Regions from separate parts of the Homo sapiens genome. Here region 2 is linked to region 1. Evidence: promoter capture Hi-C in 16 types of primary human blood cells and fetal thymus (Javierre and others, 2016). All regions are on one chromosome and are shown on one strand. Each heading gives the region's core, a stretch centred on a gene start or on the middle of the fragment in contact. The rest is flanking DNA. Distances are from core to core; before and after follow the strand shown. Region 1 holds the start of CDX2 (caudal type homeobox 2). Region 2 has its middle 77 kb from the start of MTIF3.

Region 1 (3,056 bases), core at 190-2,689:
CGATGGTGACAAATATCCGAGCGAAACGCTTGACAATGAGAACAGACAAGTGCAGGTCTCCAGGAGTGCCGCGAGCGCCCGCGGGTTCTGAGAGCGCTCAAAGCCGCCGAGTCAGGCTGCCCAGCCCGCCGGGCCTCGCCGCAGTGATCCTCATTCCCGAATCTGGCAGCGCTGTCAAAGGCTTGTATTAGGAGGTGAACGGCGGCCGCAGGCCCACTCCACGCGGTTGCTGAAACCGAGCTGGGCGCGCGCGGGGGCCGAATCTCGCCGCCTCCGCGCTCCTGTCGGGGCAGCTCCCGATCCCGGGCTGCGCGGCTTCGGTCCCCAAGACGGCCACTTCCAGCCCTAGGCCCCTTGGCCGCAGCGCTTCCCAAACCAAGAGAGATCCTTTCTCAACTCAGAGCTTTTCATTAGCAGTCGTTAATAATGGCCCTGAGTTGCCTTATCATCTCCTGGAAATGAGAAATAAATTTCTTCGGAGAACGTTTCCCTTTGTAAAGGACAGAGAGTTTTAAAGATACAGGTATGATGTAAGACACATAAATACCTAGGTAAGCATTAGCAGAAATTCTCTTTTCCTTATATTTAAGTATAATAAACATACAAGTGTAGCTCAATGAATTTTCACAAACTGACATTCTGTGTAACCAGCAGCCTAAGAAACTGCTTTACCAACGATCCCCTAGCTCGCCTCCAGTTATGCACGCCAATAACCACTAGCCTAACTTCTACCACATGCCCATTACTTCTGTAGTTTAAAACTTCTGATTCTTGAATGTAAACGTTTAACAATAAATCGCTTGAATTTAACTCAAATTTCAAATGTAAGATGAAGTCAGAGATGCAGCCTGAATCTAGGATCATAATTTGTCTTGTGCGGAGGGCGAGTAATTTCCTTGGGCAAGAAAATAACTGGAGGTGACAGTTGTTTGGGGCTGCAGTCGTCCGGGCCAGGAGCACAGGGCGGGAAGGAATGGCCCATCTCTTAGGGCTCTCTGCTTGTCACCTACCAGGTTGGTCAGAAACGTTCTCATCAAAGCAATGGTTCTCTTTTCTTTTCTCTTTGGGACAGAAGGAGTTTCTTGACCGCCCTCTTCCCTGCAAATGCATAAACAACCACTGCTCCTGTCTCCAAGCTCAGATTCCTACCAAGATAGCCTTTTCTCTTCCCCTCTCTTTTGTAAGTCTCTTGATTTCATTCTTTGAACCTGTGATTGGAGGTTAAAGTGCACCAGGTTGGAAGGAGGAAGCTCTTAACAATAAAGGTTTGAATATTTAGCTGTGTCAGGTCGCTGCCCTCTCACGAGCCTCCCTCCCCTTTATCTTTTAAAATGCAAATTATGTTTCGAGGGGTTGTGCGTAGAGTGCGCGCTGCGCCTCGACGTCTCCAACCATTGGTGTCTGTGTCATTACTAATAGAGTCTTGTAAACACTCGTTAATCACGGAAGGCCGCCGGCCTGGGGCTCCGCACGCCAGCCTGTGGCGGGTCTTCCCCGCCTCTGCAGCCTAGTGGGAAGGAGGTGGGAGGAAAGAAGGAAGAAAGGGAGGGAGGGAGGAGGCAGGCCAGAGGGAGGGACCGCCTCGGAGGCAGAAGAGCCGCGAGGAGCCAGCGGAGCACCGCGGGCTGGGGCGCAGCCACCCGCCGCTCCTCGAGTCCCCTCGCCCCTTTCCCTTCGTGCCCCCCGGCAGCCTCCAGCGTCGGTCCCCAGGCAGCATGGTGAGGTCTGCTCCCGGACCCTCGCCACCATGTACGTGAGCTACCTCCTGGACAAGGACGTGAGCATGTACCCTAGCTCCGTGCGCCACTCTGGCGGCCTCAACCTGGCGCCGCAGAACTTCGTCAGCCCCCCGCAGTACCCGGACTACGGCGGTTACCACGTGGCGGCCGCAGCTGCAGCGGCAGCGAACTTGGACAGCGCGCAGTCCCCGGGGCCATCCTGGCCGGCAGCGTATGGCGCCCCACTCCGGGAGGACTGGAATGGCTACGCGCCCGGAGGCGCCGCGGCCGCCGCCAACGCCGTGGCTCACGGCCTCAACGGTGGCTCCCCGGCCGCAGCCATGGGCTACAGCAGCCCCGCAGACTACCATCCGCACCACCACCCGCATCACCACCCGCACCACCCGGCCGCCGCGCCTTCCTGCGCTTCTGGGCTGCTGCAAACGCTCAACCCCGGCCCTCCTGGGCCCGCCGCCACCGCTGCCGCCGAGCAGCTGTCTCCCGGCGGCCAGCGGCGGAACCTGTGCGAGTGGATGCGGAAGCCGGCGCAGCAGTCCCTCGGCAGCCAAGGTAAGCAGAGGCTGCGCCCCTTCGGAGGGTGCTTGGGAAGGCGCGGGTCGAGCCAGTGGCTGCTGCGCGTCGCGCGTCCAGTGCGCACAGGGGCGTCCCGGGCTGTCTGGGAGCTCGGCGCCAGGAGGGGCACGGCCCGGAGACAAATTCGGGGGCCTCTGGCCCGTCGGGGCTTCTCTGACCTACTGAGCCTGGGAGTGAATATTCTGAGTCTCAACACCGTGTTCAGGCGTCCTCTTTCCAAGAGCTCCTCATTCGCAACCCCGGGACACCTTCGGGAAGCTCCGGGGAATGTCGGCGTGAGCACTGCTGGACGCCGGCAGAATCGCGTCCTCCGGCACTTGCTGCGGCATGCATTCCTTGCGTGGCTCCTGGCCGCCGAGGAGAGAGGGAGGCTCGAACCTTCTTGGGCTAGGTCTAGGCCATTTATCTCCGCTCTCTCTTTCCCCATCTGAGCCATCTAAGAAGAGAAGTGACCTGGGGGGGTCGGAGGATGGCTAGGCTGTGTGTGGGACCGGGTTTGGCCACTCGGGCCAATTCAAGGTACAGCGAGCAGGCAGACCAGGGAGAGCTGCTGTCGCTGGGAAGAAGGTGCTAGCCCCAGCTGCTAAGGCGACGGGGGCGCGCCCCGTCTCTGAACCTCTGACCTGTGAAGGGGTCATTTCAAGCAAAAGCTGGAAGGCTAGGGGCAAGAAGCCTAGGGGCAGGCGTCTGCGGAGAGAGCAGGGAGACGGGGAGGAAACCCTGGTGGGAATTAAGCCGCCGCTC
Region 2 (3,155 bases), core at 160-2,659, 440 kb after region 1:
GGCTGAGTGGGTGCTCGTGTTGAGAATTGTGGGAAGGCAGACGGGGTCACAATGCCAAGACAGGTCGCAACAATTCCAGGCACTCTGGCACGAGGCCAGTGTCTCCAGAAGGCTCCATGGAGAAGCCAGGTGGGCATCCGGAGAGACTCTTCTTGCATGGGAGCGAGGTTGGAGGAAGTGACCTCCAACACTGAGATTCTGGCTGGTGACTTAGGACTAAGGAGAAGGTGTCAGGGCCATGCCTTTCCATCACATCTGCAGGGCTCCTTTGGGTGGGTGGAGGGGTGTATTAGGCCGTTCTCGCATTGCTCTAAAGAAATACCTAAGACTGGGTAATTTATAAAGAAAAGAGGTTTAATTGGCTCACAGTTCTGCAGGCTTTACAGGAAGCATGGTGCTGGCATCTGCCTGGCTTCTGGGGAGGCCTCAGGAAGCTTCCAATCATGGCAGAAGGCAAAGGAAGAGCAAGCACTTCCCAGGGCAAAAGCAGGAGCAAGCACCAGAGTGGGAGAGTGGCGGGAGTTGCCACACACTTCCAAATGGTCAAATCTCTTGTGAACTCGAACAAGGACTTACTTATCACCAAGGGGATGGCCCAAGCCATTCATGAGGGCCTCCTCATGAGCCACCCCCATGATCCAAACACCTCCCACAAGGCCCCACCTCCAACATTGGGAATTACATTTCAACATGAGATTTGGAGGGGACAAATATGCAAACTATATCAGGGAGTTTCTAGTGGGGAACATTGAAGAAAAGGAGTGTCGGGGGGCACTTACTGCTTAAAGTCATGCAAAACAAGAGTGAAGAGCATATAGGACCAAGTTATCTCCTGCAGAGCACTTCTGGCAGCCCAAGGCACAGCTACTGGGGATCATTTTAGGAAGAAGAAAATAGCTGCATTCTACAGAGCACCTCACTGTGCCAGCATTCCTCAGAATGGGATGTCTCGGCACTAGCTGGCTGGCATTGTCTTCCTTAGCCGGCCTTGGCTGATAGTGACAGTGCCTTGTGCCAGGTCATCTGTACCCCCACAAGGGTGGCAGAGGCAGGCAGGTGGAGGGTATGAGAAGAGGAGAGGGTTGTGGATCACGGAAATGTCAGAGTCCTGGAATGCTGCAGGTGAGAACATCTCAGCAGGGGATCACCTGCTCAACCCCCTGGTTTTCAGGTGAGGAAACCAGACTTCAGATAAGTTAAATGACTTCCCCGGAGCTGGGCTGAACCAGCTGGGCTGAACCAGAACCAGGATCCAGGCTCCAGCCTCTAGATCTAATGCTAGCTCCACCTTCCCACACAGGAGGCCAGTGTGTAAGAAAGTGGGTGGTGAGGCCAAGGGGGAAGGAAATCTCATTTAAGATGACCACAAACAAAAGGAGAGGAGACCAAATGCATGCCCTTTCTTCAGAGAAGACACTTCTTCTCAGGCCTGGAGCCCTGATTCCTGGTTCCTTTGGGGCTGGGCACCTCACCTCCTGGCACTCCTGCCTATAGCCTGTAGAGTGGAATTTCAGATCCAGCCACTCTCGGGTTTGAATCCTGGCCATGCCACAAGCTACCTGTGTGAGTTTGGACACGTCACTTAACCTCTTTGAGCCTGAGCATCATCAGCTTTTTCCCAGGTTGGCACATGTGGCATCCTCCCAGCATTGGTGTGTGCTCACGGAGCTCAGCCACAATTCCTCATTACCTACTTCGAGATGATCTGGGTGCCTCCATCCCCTATTCTGCCCTAAGAGGTAGCCTTGTAAGTATTGCTGCTGCTCAGAAGGGAACCCTGAGAAAGGCATCCAGATGGACCTAGCATGAGGTAGATCTGAGAAGAGAGTGTTTGGAGGCAAATTTGACCCTGAATAGCCCTGTTTCCTACTGTCTTTGTCCATTTTCTGTTGCCATGACAGAGTACCTGAGACTGGGTAATTTATAAAAAGAAGAGGTTTATTTAGCTCACGGTTCTGCAGGCTGAAAAGTTCAAGAAGCAGGGCACCAGCATCTGCTCAGTGTCTGGTGAGGGCTTTCATGCTGTGTCACAACATGGCAGAAGGTCAAAGGAGAAATGATAAATGCAAAGAGGAAAAACCAAGGGGCCTCCTGGTTTTATAACAACACACTCTTGTGAGAACGAATCCATTCCTGTGATAACTAACCCAGTCTCACGAGATCAAAACTCACTCACTTCTTTCAGAATGACAGAAAGCCATTCATGAGGGGTTCACCCCCATGACCCAGACACCTCCCACTAGGATTTCCTGTCTTGGAGAAGGAGGAAATGAGAGTATTTGGGCTTAAACACCAAGGGAGAGGCTGATCTGACCTAAGGGAATGTGGGTTTCCCACTGGGAAAGGAAGAAGAGCATCGGAATTGGAATCAAGAGAAAGCTTGATCCAATTCTGGGTTCACTCCTATTAGCTGTGGGCTTTGGGCAAAGCATCTCACCTCTGAACCTCAGTGTCTTCCTCTGTACCAAGGGATAATGATAGCCTTTCCAACCTGACAAAGTGACAGAGGAAACATAAACTCAAAGGAGATAACGAATGTGAACATACTTTGTAAACTAGAAAGAAGTGTGCAAATAGATGTAAGGAGTTATTTTCATTGTTCTCTGTGCTTGTTCTCTGCCCATATGTTGTGTGGAAGAGAATCCTGCAGCAATGATACAGCTGCATCCTGCGGAAGGCCAGGGGCACTGCTCTGCACCCAGGCAGCCTGCAGCAGCCTGTCAAGGAGTCAGATGATGGCACCTGGCAAACTCCAAGCCGACAGCTTTAGAGCTCCCAATGAATGAGTGTCAGGACCCATGCCCATCAGGAGCCAGGGGCACAGAAGCAAATGGGGCTCTGTCTAACCCATCCTAGAAAAAGAGACAAATATACAAGTAGAGACTGTCATTCTACCTTTAGGTAAAACTCAGGCTTCTGTTTGTCTATTCTTCTGGCAATGGTGAGAATGTAGTTCTAGCATCCTTGAGCTAGTCAGGTTGGGACAATTAGGAAGACAAAAACCAAAGGAATAAAAATAGAAGGCAAACAGATGGTACCCAGGAGTGGAGGGGTTTTGGCATGAGGCTTCAAGAGATGGAGTGCGCCCAGGAGGGGATACCCACGATCTCCACATGACACCCCCATCTGTGCAGGGTGAGGATGCCCACCTGCAG

What was found. Contacts are between HindIII fragments. The CHiCAGO score rates a contact against its expected background, and 5 or more counts as called.
Region 2: a contact is called between a fragment that was not itself captured here and the fragment with the promoter of CDX2 in region 1, in 1 of 17 cell types (M1 macrophages). The highest score is 5.3, in M1 macrophages.

Annotation. Positions count from the first base shown.
Region 1 is chr13:27,967,698-27,970,753 of GRCh38, reverse strand. It overlaps CDX2 (caudal type homeobox 2), which reads left to right and starts at 1,439. Exons shown (of 3, transcript NM_001265.6): 1 at 1,439-2,288. The coding sequence starts at 1,748. RefSeq lists an enhancer at 1,513-2,204. The HindIII fragment of the contact is 4,126 bases long and covers 1-3,056 here.
Region 2 is chr13:27,525,740-27,528,894 of GRCh38, reverse strand. No RefSeq gene overlaps it. Among named protein-coding and RNA genes, the nearest start is that of MTIF3, 77 kb to the right of the region's middle. The HindIII fragment of the contact is 1,945 bases long and covers 437-2,381 here.